Regions from separate parts of the Homo sapiens genome. Here all the other regions are linked to region 1. Evidence: promoter capture Hi-C in human tissues and cell types (Jung and others, 2019). All regions are on one chromosome and are shown on one strand. Each heading gives the region's core, a stretch centred on a gene start or on the middle of the fragment in contact. The rest is flanking DNA. Distances are from core to core; before and after follow the strand shown. Region 1 holds the start of KLHL22 (kelch like family member 22). Region 2 has its middle 110 kb from the start of SERPIND1. Region 3 has its middle 120 kb from the start of MED15.

Region 1 (5,171 bases), core at 763-3,262:
TTCCTTCCCAGGTTTCTAGCCTGCTCCACTCTGGTCTTCACTCCCTGCCTGAGACCACAGCACTGTGGCTGGCTCCCTACTCAGTCTTCGTCTCTACCATATTGGCATCTGCCCACCCTGGCTACAGGGTGCCCTCAGGGCTAAGTCAAGCCTCCAAAGGGCAGGGTCTGCTCTCCAACCTTCCCTTCAGGCTCAGAAAATTCTGGAAACCTCCACACCACTCACTTTGAAGGATCTCACCTCCACGTTTGCTGACACTGTCGGCTTCCTGGAATGCTTTTCTTAATCCCAAAGTCCTCCTCTGTTACACAGTAGGGGGGTCTCCTCCAGAAAGTCTTTCTAGGAGGAAGCCCACTCCCATTTGGAACCTCTGCCTCTGGAGGCCAATCCCGTTCTCTTGATCCTTGTCTGGGACCCTCAGTTATCTCTCTGGACTCAGCCAGGACAGCAATTCTCTTCCGTGTATTTTCCTCCTTTTACATTCCCCTTCCACCAATTTTTTTTTTTTTTTTTTTTTTTTTTTTTGAGACGGAGTCTCGCTCTGTCACCAGGCTGGAGTGCAGTGGCGCGTGATCTCGGCTCACTGCAACCTCTGCCTCCCGGGTTCAAGCGATTCTCCTGCCTCAGGCTCCCGAGTAGCTGGGACTACAGGTGCGCGCCACCACGACCGGCTAGTTTTTTTGTGTGTGTTTTGGTAGAGATGGGGTTTCACCATGTTGGCCAGGATGGTTTCCATCTCCTGACCTCGTGATCCGCCCGTCTCGGCCTCCCAAAGTGTTGGGATTACAGGCGCCAGCCACCAAGCCCGGCCCCACCTTTCTTTTTAACCATGAGCCATCTCCAGCCACATCCTCCCCCTACCACTCTCTCCACCCTTCACAGTCCCTCTCAAAACCACAGTGTGGGACACTCCAACCTTATCCCATCAGGAGGCTCTGTGGCTCCAAGCTCTGGGCGCAGCCATTACGGATACGCCTCGGAGGATGGGACCTGCTCGAAGGTGAGGTGGAGAACAATGAATGCCAAGACCCGCGCACGGACCTCTGGGACCAGGCTTTAAGACTGGGAATTAGATTTACTGCAAAATCTCAGTAAAGGAACGGGCACACAAACTAGCACCTGTTCACTCTGGCGGTGTTAAGCGATTCTCCCCGATATCCCGCAGGGGGCGCGCTACGGTCAGCGGCACCGACCGCGGAGGGAGCGGGGAAGGAGCAGGCCGCGGGAGGGAGGGAATGAGCGCGTGACGAAGGGAACAAGTGGAGGAGAGGAGGAAAGAAGGGAATCAAAGAGGGAGGGAGGCAATGGGAGAAGAGGAGAGGGAGGGAGGGAAAGAAGGGGGGAAATGAGACAGGGAGGGAAGGAATGAGAGAGGGAGGAGAGAACGAGAGTTAAGGAGGGAGGGAAAGGGAATGAGAGAGGGAGGGGATGAGAGGGGGAGACAGGGAGGGAGTGAATGAGTGAGGGAGGAAGGGAATGGTGGGTAAGATAGGAAGGGAAGGAATGAGAGAGTGAAGGAGGGAGGGAATGAGAGGGGGGGAGTAAGAGAGGAGAGAAGAGAGTGAAGAAGGGAATGAGGAAAGGAGAGGGAGGATATGAGCGGGGAGGGAGATAGTGAGGAAGGGCAGGAGGAAGTGAGTCGAGGAATGAGGGTAGGACCGAGGCAAGGAAAGAGTCAATGGATTCAGACGGGGCGACTCTCGGCAAATTCGCTCATTCGTTGGTTCGGCCCCGCCAAGTGCCAGGTGCCGCGCTAGTGCGGGGACTCACTGAGCCTTGGCGATCGCTGCTGTCCTCCGCAGAGCGCCGGAGTGGAGCCGCCCCCTGTCTCCCCGCCCCAGGGCCGCCCCCGCGCTGCTACCCGGCCAGGCCGGGAACCCCCGGGCCTACGTCTGGCCCGCCCGGCGCCTGCGCGGCGCACCCACGTGACGGCCCAGGCCCCCGCCCCGCCGGCTCCTCTCGCCCAGCCTCCCGCCTCGCGCCTCCCGCCTCCCGCCTCCCGCCTCCCTCCAGCTGCGAGTGCGGCCTCGGCTGGCGGCGGCACCAGGTCAGCTGCGAGGCGTGAGCCGAACGGGCCGGGCGGCAGCGAACGCGGGGGTCGGGCGGCAAGCAGGCATCGCTGGGCCGGGGACAAGCTAGCGGCGCGGAGTCCGAGGGGCGCGGGGGCGGGCGCGGGCCGGAGGCTCGGGGGCGGCGACCTGAGGAGAGCCCGCGGCCTGACGTGGCGGGGACGCGGCCGGCGGGATCCCCGGGCGCGGGCGCGTAGGGGCCGGGATCTGGCGCTCGGCCAGGGGCCAGGGTGCGAGGCCTCCTCAGCGCGGCTGCTGGCGCGCCGGCCTCCTGGCACCCGGGCGGGCCCTGTTGCCTGCGGCAGGTCCGAATGCGGCCTTCCTGGCCGCGACCCTCCGCGCTGGAGCGGGCGGCCTTGCAACAGGCGGGCGATTTGGGGCCGGCCTGACGAGCCTCAGTTCCCTCGATCGGGCCCGGGGACTGCAGCCGTAGGAGCCCAGCCTTGCCAGCTCTCCCGGTTTCCTGAGAGGAGCCGGAGATCGCGCTGTCAGTGCAAAATCACCAGAGCGCGAAGCGTCGGCTGCCAGTTCTGACCATTTTAGATCCGGTGCGGGCCGAGCCGAGTGGATCTGGGGCGGGCAGCGGGGCACCGCCACCTTCCGCCTGGGCTCCTCACTGGGCGCCCTCGCTCCGGCCCTCCGCGGGGCCGAGTGCCTCCAAGACGGCTCCCTGGGAGATTCTTCCAGAGCGCACCCTTTGGAAGGCTGCCCCGCTGGGAATCAGCACCCACTCCCTCTCCTCTACCGCAGCCGCCCCCTTTGCCTTTGTGGCCGACCTTGCTTCATGCTGCCAAGGATTGAGTTTCTTTGAGGGGATACTGCTCGTTCGGGGGCCCTACAGAAGGCTGAGGGTATCTACTCAGTAAAATCGTACCGAACTGAAAGTTCCTCTGAAATGATTTTGACTCTGCCATCCATCACTTCATAAAAATTCATCTTGTATCCTTCAGTTTGTAGCTATGTGGCACATTAAGCTTCCTTTCTTCTCCCCACTGAAACTTCGAACAGTACAAAACGGGGAACTTGGCTTGTGATGACTAAAATTGGGGATATGAGACTGGGGGCGGGCGCGGTGGCTCATGCCTGTAATCCCAGCACTTTGGGAGGCCAAGGCTGGCAGATCACCTGAGGTCAGGAGAGACTAGCCTGGCCAACATGGTGAAACCCCGTCTCTACTAAAAATACAAAAATTAGCTGGGTGTGGTGACACGTGCTTGTAATCCCAGCTACTCGGGAGGCTGAGGTAGGAGAATCGCTTGAACCCAGGAGATGAAGGCTGCAGTGAGCCAAGACCCTACCACTGCACTCTAGCCTACACCATATAGTGAAACCTCTTCTCTACAAAGAAAATTTGAAAAATTAGCCGGGCGCAGTGGTGAGCTCCTGTTGTTCCAGCTTCTGAGGAAGCTGAGGTGGGAGGATCACTTGAACCTGGGAGCTTGAGACTGCAGTGAACCCCAAGCTGTCTCACCCCAGATAGCCAGGACTACAGGTGTACACCACCATGCCTAGTTAATTTTTAAATTTTTTGTAGAGAAAGGGTCGCGCTATATTGCCCAAGGTGGTCTTGAACTCCACCTACCTGGACCTCCCAAGGCACTGGGATTACAGGCATGAGCCACCATGCCCAGCCTACTTTGCACTTTTTTTTTTGGGGGGGGGGCAAAGTCTGGCTCTGTCGCCCAGGCTGGAGTGCAATGGCACAATCTTGGCTCACTGCAACCTCCACCTCCTGGGTTCAATCGATTCTCCTGCCTCAGCTTCCCCCTTCCTCAGCCTTCCCAGTAGCTGGGATAACAGGCATGCGCCACCACGCCCCACTAATTTTTGTATTTTTAGTAGAGATGGGGCTTCCTCATGTTGGCCAGGCTGGTCTTGAACTCCTGACCTCAGGTGATCCTCCCACGTTGGCCTCCCAAAGTGCTGGGATTACAGGCATGAGCCACTGTGCCCAGCCTACTTTGCACATTGTTTTTTTGTTTGTTTTTTTGTTTTTGAGACGGAGTCTCGCACTGTCATGCAGGCTGGAATGCAGTGGCGTGATTCTCCTGCCTCAGCCTCCCAAGTAGCTGGGATTATAGGCACCTACCACCATGCCCGGCTAATTTTTTTGTATTTTTAGTAGAGATGGGGTTTCACTATGTTGGCCAGGCTGGTCTTGAACTCCTGACCTCGTGATTCATCCGCCTCAGCCTCCCGAAGTGTTGGGATTACAGGCGTGAGCCACTGCGCCCGGCCACTTTGCGCATTTTGACTGTTGCCTAATGTTCTGTCAGATCACTGTGCCATGACATCTGTTCTCCTGAGGGTGGACGTTTTGGTGATTTAAAACCGTATAGATGTGGTTTTAAATGTTTTAAATGTTGCACCCTGTGCTGTGCTCCTTCCCAGCAGAGAATTGATTCATTTTTCAGCATATCCCCCTTAGCCCCTAGCTAAGTTTCTTAAATTGGACTTGGTAAATGTGCTTTGCCTGCCCATGGAAGATGTCTTTCTGTTTTACCGTACTTGTTTTTGCAGTATGGGTTTAGGGAGTAGCTGCCATTTATCCCTTCCCAAGAGAGCAGAGGCACTACTATGCTCACGGAAGGTGAGGATCCACCTGGGGGCTTGATGTCTATTGGGGTAGTTGTGGAGGTCACCCTCAGAGAAGGAGGCCCTCTTGACTCTGCGGTGGTCATGGTGGTGATGAGAAAGCTGAGGCGTGGGTATATGAGACAAGTGCCCAGAGTCTGTCATTAGCAAGTGGTACAGCCAGCCATGGGGGCTTTTGAGATGTTTGTGAGATAAAACCTCACCCCTCAAGAAGCCGGAATCTCCTTGTCGTGGGTAAATAGGCAGGTTTGGGCCGGGCGCGGTGGCTCATGCCTGTAATCCCAGCACTTTGGGAGGTCAAGGCAGATGGATCACCTGAGGTCAGGAATGCGAGACCAGCCTGACCAACATGGTGAAACCCCATTTCTGCTAAAAATGCAAGAAAATTAGCTGGGTGTGGTGGTGCACGCCTGTAATCCCAGCTACTGGGGAGGCTGAGGCAGGAGAATCACTTGAACCTGAGAGGCAGAGGTTGCAGTGAGCCAAGATCACACCACTGCACTCTAG
Region 2 (5,171 bases), core at 1,872-4,371, 170 kb before region 1:
TACTGCTTCGACGCCTTCCCTAACATCGAGAAGGTGTCCAAGATCACGTCGCCCGTGCTCATCATCCACGGCATGGAGGACGAGGTGATCGACTTCTCACACGGGCTGGCGCTCTACGAGCGCTGCCCCAAGGCGGTGGAGCCGCTGTGGGTGGAGGGCGCCGGGCACAACGACATCGAGCTCTACAGCCAGTACCTGGAGCGCCTGCGTCGCTTCATCTCCCAGGAGCTGCCCAGCCAGCGCGCCTAGCGGCGGGCCCCAACCGGCCGGACCTCAGCAATAAGGCGGCCCCCGGACCTCACCCCGCGCCGGCCCCCCAGGGGCTGCATGTGGACCCCCGGGCGGCCTAGGGGACCCTGCCCCGACCCAGGGGCTGTGGACGATGTACACAGTCAACAGAGCTACGCACTCCTTTCCTTTTGGAAGCAAAAAGAAAATATGTGAAAACAGAAATTAAAGATTTAAAATTTAAAAAAAAAAAAGAAAAAAAAATTTTGTTTCCGGGAAGTAACATCTTAATTTAAATGGAGGAATTTACCAAATCAAGTACAAGGATTTTATTTCTGCTACTAAATGGAAGATATATGTAAAATATAGACTCCATCACTCTATTCTTTACTATCATGAGAATTAATATAGACAGCATATTTTAGACAGAGCATACAAAGCCTTATGTTCACTGAATTACAAGTAAAATATATGTACGTATCTATAAATAATTATATATCTAATTTAGATAGTAAATGACAGAATTTACTTATTTACCTGTGCATGATGGAATTTGATTCTAGCAATTATTCCGGGTACGATAACTGGTTGAAAATGGGATATGAAGTAAACTGGTATGCTTAAAAGTAACTACATCAAGTGAATTCATTATAATGTCTCCAAGCAAGGCAAGACCACCCTCATGAGATAAGAAATGAGAGGCTACTTATTTTGACTAAGTTGACTCAATGACTTGGGGAACCAAGGACTATATGTACATGGATACTTGTTTTGTACCCCCCCAAAAAAATGTGTTTCCACTGCAGTATTTGGGAACCCATTATTTCTTGATTCATGCTCTTATTTTCATATAAGAGAAGCGTTGATACCCCAAAATCAACTTAAATTTTAATTAACCAAATATAAAATTTTTAAAGACAAAAAAAATTTCATAATAAGAGTTAAGCCAACAGAAAGGGAATATGAAACAACAGAGAAAATCAATAAACCAAAATTAAATGTTTGAAAAGATAACAAAATTGGCAAATGTTTACTTAGGTCAATCAAGAAAAAGAGAGAAGAGACTCAAATTACTAAAATCAGCAATAAAAGAAAACCCATCACTGCCAGTATTACAAAATAAAAATACAAGACAATGCAGTGAAAATCTTATGTTAAAAAAATCAGATAGCCTAGATAGAATGGATGAATTCCTAGAAAGACACAAACTAAAATAGATGAAAGGACTAAGGAGAAATAGAAAATCGAAATAGATCTACAGAAGGTAAAAAGATTGGATTGTAATTTTAAAAACTTACAATAAAAATCTCAAGTAGCTTCCCAGGCAAAATCTATCAAACACACTGAGAAATTAATATCAATTGTTCACCAACTCTTGCAGAAAATAAAAGGGGAGAGAACACTTCCCAATTCATTTTATAAAGCCAGGATTACTGACACCAAAACTGTATCACAAAACAATATAGAACAGTATCTTTCATTTTGTGTGTGTGTGACAGAGTCTCACTCTGTCATCCAGGCTGGAGTGTAGTGGTGCAATCTCAACCCACTGCGACCTCTACCTTCCAGGTTCAAGCGATTCTCCTGCCTCAGCCTCCCAAGTAGCTGGGATTACAGGCGTGCACCACCATGCATGGCTAATTTTTGTATTTTTAGTAGAGACAGGGTTTCACCATGTTGGCCAGGCTGGTCTCGAACTCCTGACCTCAGGTGATCTACCCACCTAGGCCTCCCAAAGTGCTGGGATTATACAGGCGTGAGCCGCCACGCCCAGCACATTGTTTTATAAAATCAAAAGTCTTCAACAAAATATTGCCAAACTGAATCCAGAAACATATAAAATAGATTATGCACTATACGCAGATGTGATTTACCCCAGGAATGCACCATTGATTTAATATTTGAAAATCATTGCATGCAAACACCATATTAACAGAATAAAAGACAAAAATATATAAGCATCTCAGACAGAAAGCATTTGAGAAAATATCACACATTCTAATAATAAAAACACTCCAGGCTGGGAGCGGTGGCTCACAACTGTAATCCCAGCACTTTGGGAGGCTGAGGCGGGCGCAATCACGAGGTCAAGAGACTGAGACCATCCTAGCCAACATGGTGAAACCCCGTCTCTACTAAAAATACAAAAACTCAGCCAGACATGGTGGCAGGCGCCTGTAATCCCAGCTACTTGGGAGGCTGAGGCAGGAGAATCGCTTGAACCTGGGAGGCGGAGGTTGCAGTGAGCCAAGACCTCGCCATTGTACCACTCCAGCCTGGGCAAAAAGAGTGAAACTCTGTCTCCAAAAAAAAAAAAAAACAACAAAAAAAAAACAAAACACTCCAAATTTACGAACAATAAGGTAACTTCCTGAAACTAGTGGTAGTTACCTATGAAACTTACAGCTATCATTATACTCAGCAATGAGAGGGTGAATGACTAATCAGTTACAAGAATGTCCACTCTTGCAAATTCTATTCAACATTATATTGTAGATTGTAGCGAGGTGTAGTAAAGAACGGAAAATTTAAAACATCCTTATTGAAAAGAAAATAATTTTTTTATATTTACACATGGCACGATCTCATATATAATTCTAAGAAATTCAGTAAAATACTATTAGAAATAAATTTGACGTAGTTTCAAGATATAAATGCAATACTAAAAATTTAATTTTATTTCTATATACTATCAATAAACTGCTTTAAAATGGTATTAAGGAAACAAACCCATGTATAATACCAACAAAACAAGTAATAAATTTAGAAATTAACAAGAGCAGTGCAAAATTCATACTTTGAAACCTGCAAAATATTGTTGAAATAAGTTGAAGAACAATTAAATAAATGAGAAGTGGTGGAGCGAGATGGCAGAATAGAACTCTACAAGATTGTCTCCCTGCAGGAACATCAAATTGAACCACCAACAATCTAAGCAAGAGAATACCTTCACAAGAGCCAAAGAAATCAGGTGACAGATCACAGAACCTGGTTTTAGCTTAAAAACAAGAAAAGACACATTAAACAGGGTGGAAAAGACAGTCTTGCAGTGCCTATACCATCCCTCCCTCAACCCCAGGCAGTGCAGAGAGACAATGTGTCCACTTCCAGGAGGGAGAAGAGAGTGTGCATTAAACTTTGCCTTGGAGCCCAGTACCAGCTCTGCTACAGTAAAACACAGCACTGGGCAGAACCCCATGGTCCTTGATTCCAGGCCGGTGCCCACAGACAGAGCATTTAGACATGACCTGGGCTAGAAGGGAATCCACTGCCCGGTGGGACAAACCTGAGTCCTGACTTCCTTCACCACCAGCTGTTTAAAGTGGCCTCAGGCTCTGAATAAATTTCAGTGGCAGGCAGGCCATAGCCACTGTGGTCCTTGGGTGAGCCCCAGCAACCAATGATGTGCTGGTCTGGGAGGCTGTGGGTTTCATATATGACATCCGCTACAGTGGCCACAGGGCTGCCTGTGTTACCCTAATCCCAACTCCAGGCAGTGCAGTGCCGGGAGAACTCCTTTCCTATGCAGGAAAGAGGAGAACCCAGTCCAGGCTCCACCACGGTGGACACAGCATCAGGCAGAACACAGTGGCCCTGATCCCAGGCAGGAGCTCCCAGACACCTCTAGACCTGCCTGGAGGTAGAAGAGAACCTGCTGCCCTGGCGGGATGGACCTAAACCCTGGCCAGCTTCACCACCAGCAGAGTAGCTCGGCCTCAAGACCTACATAAGTCAGCAGCAGTCAGGCAGTAGTGGCCACAGGACTCAGACAAGCCCCAGTGCTGCTCTGGTCCTAGAGGCTGTGGGCTTCGGGTATGTGGTGCCAGCTGCAGTGGCCATGGGAGTGCCCAAGCCACCCTTCTCCCAGATCCACAAAGCTTAGTACCCAGACTCCTTCCAATGGGAAGAAGAGGGAAGTGAATGAAGCACTTTGCCTGGGAACCCAGGGAACCCCTCCCTTATCTTCTCCAAGTCCATCAGGGCCCTCTGGGACCTCAGTCCTGCAAGAGTCACAGTGAACCTGAGCTTAGGGCACCCTGGTGCTGAAACAGCTTCAGTGACCCCAGCCTTAGGGAACTCAATAGTCAGTACCCTTGGAATTTCTGGAAGACCATCTAGAGGAGGACAGGTACAAACAAGACCAGACTACAAAGACTGGAATAAATACTGACTTATTCAATTCCCAGGCATGAACATAGGCCCAAATGCATTAAGAACATTCAGGGAAGTATGACCTCACCAAACAATAAACAAGTCACCAGTGACTAACCTAGGAGAGATAAAGATGTTAAACTATTCAGAGAGGGAGGTAAAAAATAGCTGTTTTGAGGAAAATCAATGCAATTTTAAAAATATAAGTAATTCGGAAATGTATCAAAGAAATTTAACAAAGAGATTGAAATAATTTTAAAAGACCACAAAAACCTCAAAGCTGAAAAATATAATGGATGCACTGAAAAATGCATGAGAGGGCCTCAACAGCAGAACTGATCCAACAGAGAAAGAATCAGTGAGCTCACACAGGCCATTTGAAATACACAATAGGAGAAAAAAGAAAAGAAAAAAAAGAATGAAGGCAGCTTAGGAAATCTATGGGATAGTATCAGAAGAGCAAATTTAAGAGTCATTGGTCTTCAAGAGAAAGCAGAGAAAGAGTAGAAAGCTTATTCAAAAAGATGGTAACAGAAAGCTTTCCAATTCAAGAGAAATATATAAATATCCAGGTACATGAAGACCAAAGATCATCAAGCAGATTCAAGCCAAATAAGACTACGCCAAAGTGGCCAGGTGCGGTGGCTCAGGCCTGTAATCCCAAGTACTTTGGGAGGCCGAGGCAGGTGAATCACTTGAGGTCAGGAGTTCGAGACCACCCTGGCCAACATGGTGCAACCCCATCTCTACTAAAAATACAAAAATTAGCCAAGTATGGTCGTGGGTGCCTA
Region 3 (5,171 bases), core at 1,719-4,218, 130 kb before region 1:
GAAAGACAAAACTTTTGAAAGTGGGAAGTTTCAAATGCGGAAAGAATTGTGATGTTCCCTGAAAGAAGTAGTAACTCCAGCACTGGAGATAAGATAGTGGCATCAGAAATTCAGAGGGGCATGGCTTACATGCGAAGAGTGAAGCTGTGTGGGCCTGAGACCAAGAAAAGAGGTACTGGACTCCGATTAGCTGGGCCCAGATGGCCAGACAGGTGTGGAGACAGATGGAGGTGTGTGACCAGGACCCTCCTCAGAACACCACTCTCGCTTGGCCAAATGCCCTGTTCTTCTGGGTGGCTATGCTTAGGGCTAGCGTCACTGAGGTCACTGTGCTGCAATTAGGCATCTTCACTAGGGATTCAGTCACAGATGTAAATCAATCACAGTCGCGTTTGTGGAAGAAGACTCCAAACTAGACCAACCGAATCTCTAGGGGCTGCCCCAAGTGTGCCTGGGGTGTCCTGGTGCCAGTGCACAGCTCTGGGTAAGAACCACTGGATTAGATATGTAAGCCCCATGGGTAAGAAGAGGACCTTGCCTGAAAGGTGGATCCCAAGTATTGGTCACCTGGGAAGACTGTGGAATCCTAGAGAGGACAGGGGACAGAGAGAGAGAATTCTAGAAGTCCTCATGCTCATAATCATGAAGACGCCAAGATGACCAGGATGAGGTGAGTTGTCCTTTAAGAAGAGTCTAGATTTTCTTTGTCCTTTACATTTTTTTCTCCTTCCTTCCTCCCTCCCTCCCTCTCTCTTTCTTTCTCTCTTTCTCTTTCTCTTTCTTTCTTTTCTTTCTTTCTTTCTTTCTTTCTTTCTGTCTGTCTGTCTGTCTCTCTCTCTCTCTCTCTTTCTTCTTTTTCTTTTTTTTCTTTCCTTCTTTCTTTCTTTCGACAGAGTCACTCTATCACCCAGGCTGGAGTGCAGTATCATGATCTTGGCCCACTGCAACTTCCGCCTCCCGGCTTCAAGTGATTCTCCTGCCTGAGTCTCCCAAGTAGTTGAGATTACAGGTACAGCACACTCCACCATGCCCGGATAATTTTTGGTGTTTTCTTTTTTTTTTTAGCAGAGATGGGGTTTCACCATGTTAGCCAGGCTGGTCTCAAACTACTGACCTCAAGTGATCCACCTGCTTCAGCCTCCCAAAGTGCTGGGATTACAGGTGTGAGCCACTGCACCCGGCCTGCCCTTTACATTTTTGCTATAATTTTAGAATCAGCTTGTCAATTTTTACCAAACCTACTGGAATTTTGGATGCTAAATTGGCTCACAATGAAGTTAAAAACCAAATAAGAATGAATCCATTGCCAAATCCAAGATCTTGAAAATGTAATTCCATGTTTTTTGTTTAGAGTTTAACAGTTTTAGTGTTTATACTTAGGGCTTTGACCTATTGTGACTTAATTTTTGTATATGGTGTGATGTAGGGGTCCAGCTTCATCCTTTTGCATGTGGATATCCAGTTCTCCCAGCACCATTCTTCAAAGAAATGAGTGTTTTCCCCACTGAATGGTCTTGTACCTAAGTTTTTACTCAGCTCGGTGAAAACGTGCTCTCACTGATGAGGCTGATAAGGTTTTGTCTTGAATTGGGACCTGGGAATAGTGCTGGTAATTTGGAGATGACATGAACATTTATTTGGGGCTACCCCAGTGCTCTCTGCTGGTTGAGCAACTGCGCCATCCAGCCAGTTGGAAGGTTTGTAATGAGGGAGCTGAATGAGACAGAGACGAGAAGAAAGGGCGAAAGTGGAAGAACTGCATCAAGAATTCAGGAGTGAAGAGGGAGCAATTCTCCTGAACATTCCATGAAATAATCTAAATAAAACCACCTAGTACCAAGCCTGCCCTGTAGGAGATGCTTGGTGATGTTCTGGTTGTCTTTGAGTCAAGATGGAGTCCATCTGGGTCGGAAAGATAAAATGACAATCTTGCTGAAGTTTTTCTCCATCCGAGGTGGAAGTGAGATTTCCCACTCATGCTCTCCAGCGCTTGGACTTGCTTTTGGGACCAGCTCTGATGAACCTGTGTACACTGAGTTGCAAGTGATGGACAATAGCTCAGACCAACAGTCCACAGGTGAGTTGCAAGTAACCCCAAGGTGTTAATGGCTGTTCCTTGGCAGAAAGAGTTCAATGTGTTTATGAAGCATCACATACCACATTCCCCTCCTGGGGACTGACAGTGTGTGTGGTGTATAGAGCAAGTCCTGGCATACAGCAAGTGCTGTACAAGCATTACCAAGGATTCAGTACCACAGACTTGGCTCTGAAGCTGGCCACTGTGGGCTGCATGCGAATGGTGTTTCTGTAAAATGTGGGAATTGCTGGCCGGGCGTGGTGGCTCACGCCTGTAATCCCAGTACTTTGGGAGGCTGAGGCAAGTAGATCACTTGAGCCCTGGAGCTGAAGACCAGCCTGGGCAACATGATGTAACCACATCTCTACAACAAATATAAAAATTAGCAGGGCCTGGTGGTGTGTGCCTGTAGTCCCAGCTATTTGGGAGGCTGAAGCAGGAGGATCGCTTGAGCTTAGGAGTCTGAGGTTGCAGTGAGCTATGATCATACCACTGCACTCCAGCCTGAGTGGGAAAGCAAGACCCTGTCTCTACAAATAAATAAAGAAGACATGAGAATCGATAATGTAATGCATGTTGAGTTACACAAATGTTCTCCTGGGCATTGTGAAACTATGTAATATTTTGTTAGGGCCAGGTGCAGTGGTTTACACCTGTAATCCCAGCACTTAAGAGGCCAAGGCAGGAGGGCCAGTGGAGGCCAGGAATTTGAAACTAGCCTGGGCAACATAGCGAGACCCTGTCTCTACAAAAAAGAAAATAAGAAGAAAATTAGCCAGGCATGGTGGTGTGTGCCTGTAGTTCCAGCTACTCAGGAGGCTCAGGGGGAAGGATTGCTTGAACCCAGGAGTTTGAGGTTGCAGTGAGCTATGATCGTGCTATTGCATTCTCTCCTGGGCAACAGAATGAGACCCTGTCTCTAGAAAAATAAAAAGATTCTGCTGTGCTGCAGATGTTGAGATTTTGTCTCTGTTTTTCCACAGTGGTTTGCTAAGAAGGCCATTTTCAACTCTCCACTGGAGGCTTTTATGGCGTTCCCTCACCTGCAGCGGCCCAGCTTTCTACTGGTAAATATCAGCTGTCTGGATGAGTGTCAGTGTGGCCACAGCTCTGTAGCTGTGGGACTTGAATGTTCTTCCCATTGACTTGAAGAATTCTCTAGTGGTTGTCTTTTAGGAGCGTGTGATGGAAGCAATGCCAGACTCCTTAAGCTTGACTGTGCCCCCTTATTACTACAGGGCCTTGGGGTTACTCAACCGCTGGGCTCTGGGCTCTGGGTTTTCCCATACAAGACAAATTCATTCAAGTTCTATTTTCTCTACTTCCCAAGGGGGTATGAGGAGGAGGAGGGGGAGGAGCAAATGAGAATGATGTACATCAGAGTGTTCATGATCTGTAAGTTCTTAAACAGACATGAAACATTCTGATAATCATAATTGTCATTAGTGAAAAATGGAGACACTCTTATGTTCTGAGGGGGTGCTAGGTTAGCACTTTAACTATTAAACATGGTGCTGAGAACTGGGTGTAATGGTCCGTATCTGTAGTTCTAACTACTAAGGACACCGAGGAAGGAGGATTACTTGAGCCCAGGAGTTTTAAGACCAGCCTGAGCAACACAGTAAGACTCAAAAAAAAAAAAAAGAAAAAATGATACTGAGAAGCGAGAAGTTAGGTATGAGCAAGTATTGGTGATGAAAGTTCCTAATTTTAGTTCTTAGGAGGTATTTTTGTAAATATGTATGTGGAAGGACGTTCCTCCCCAGGGCACCCCACTAGAGCCACCAGGTCTGCCACATGGCCAGACAACTCAGGTCTCCATCTCTTGTCTCAAATCCTGTGAAATCCACCCTCATTTGGAGGTAGACAAGGCATTTGGAGGTAGACAGATTCTAGCAGTTTCTCCTGATGTGAGTCCATTTGCACAGACGCTATTTTTATCCTTGTAGTCAGGATGCTTTCCGTATATCCCACGACTGTGGGTAGATTTTATTAGTCCTTGTCCTGAGTCTTTTCTGGCCTCTCCATTGCCTTTATGTTTAGTGTTTACTTGGTGCAAGCCATCTATAATTTTTACCTGCCTTGTGTGTGTGTGTGTGTGTTTTGTTGTTGTTGTTTTGCTTTGTTTTATTTTTTTTTTTTTTGAGACGGAGTTTCTCTCTGTCGCCCAGGCTGGAGTGCAGTGGTGCGATCTCAGTTCACTGCAACCTCTGCCTCTCAGGTTCAAGCGATTCTCCTGCCTCAGCCTCCAGAGTAGCTGGAATTACAGGCATGCACCACCAAGCCCGGCTAATTTTTTTGTGTTTTTTTAATAGAGACAAGGTTTCACCATTTTGGCCAGGCTAGTCTTGAACTCCTGACCTTGTGATTTGCCCACTTTGGCCTCCCAAAGTGCTGGGATTACAGGCGTGAGCCACCACGCCCGGCCCTGCCCTGTGTTTTAAGGTCATTGGTTTAGTAGGTTCACTGTCTGCTGAATAAAAGACAGCTCAGTTAAGAGAGGATGCTGTAGCCCTGATTTTGTTGGGCATTCTTACTGATGATCACAACTGTGTAATCATGATGGTCCATCAGGTGGGAAATTTCCATTTGATGCGTACGAACTCAGTAGTACTCTGTGGTCTGTGAGAGGTGCCCTTACACAATCGAGATCCTCTTCTGGCTCTGGGGCTGACCCTGGGGCCAACCCCTACTTATGGATTGGTGGAAGTCAGTCCTGTTCTGATGATGAGCAGCACGCTGAGTTGGTACTGGGAAGCAAGCCTGAGAGTTCCTGGTCCAGAGTGCATAGAACCACAGCCTCTCCTAGTAGCATCCTTTGGGCCACTGACACACATGAGGGGCTGGGGAATCACGCCAGTGGTTATGTGTCTGACTCATAACCTATCACTTGGATTTCTGTTTGACTCAAGCCAGAGTATCACTAAAAGCTGCAGTGAATGTCCTCATGATTTTTTCACTTTGTTCTACCTTCTAGGCTACCCTGAAAGCTGACTCTGTAAATAAGCCCTTTGCACAGTGATGCCAAGACTTGGTTAAAGTCATTGAGGATTTTCCAGCAGAGGTATAGCTCTGCTGACATCTCTCTTTGGAG

What was found. Contacts are between HindIII fragments. The study calls those that stand out against the background at their distance.
Region 2: a fragment that was not itself captured here is called in contact with the fragment with the promoter of KLHL22 in region 1 in 3 of the 25 tissues and cell types used here (H1 embryonic stem cells, mesenchymal stem cells and pancreas).
Region 3: a contact is called between a fragment that was not itself captured here and the fragment with the promoter of KLHL22 in region 1, in 2 of the 25 tissues and cell types used here (H1 embryonic stem cells and IMR-90 fibroblasts).

The regions. Positions count from the first base shown.
Region 1 is chr22:20,492,636-20,497,806 of GRCh38, reverse strand. KLHL22 (kelch like family member 22) reads left to right here and starts at 2,012. Exons shown (of 7, transcript NM_032775.4): 1 at 2,012-2,047. LOC101928824 (a long non-coding RNA gene) reads right to left here and starts at 1,894. Exons shown (of 4, transcript XR_007068011.1): 1 at 1,120-1,894. RefSeq lists an enhancer at 846-1,498 and a silencer at 1,693-2,352. The HindIII fragment of the contact is 15,001 bases long and covers 1-4,786 here.
Region 2 is chr22:20,662,896-20,668,066 of GRCh38, reverse strand. It overlaps the pseudogene ABHD17AP4. Among named protein-coding and RNA genes, the nearest start is that of SERPIND1, 110 kb to the left of the region's middle. The HindIII fragment of the contact is 5,707 bases long and covers 268-5,171 here.
Region 3 is chr22:20,624,069-20,629,239 of GRCh38, reverse strand. It overlaps the pseudogene SMPD4P1. Among named protein-coding and RNA genes, the nearest start is that of MED15, 120 kb to the right of the region's middle. The HindIII fragment of the contact is 4,060 bases long and covers 939-4,998 here.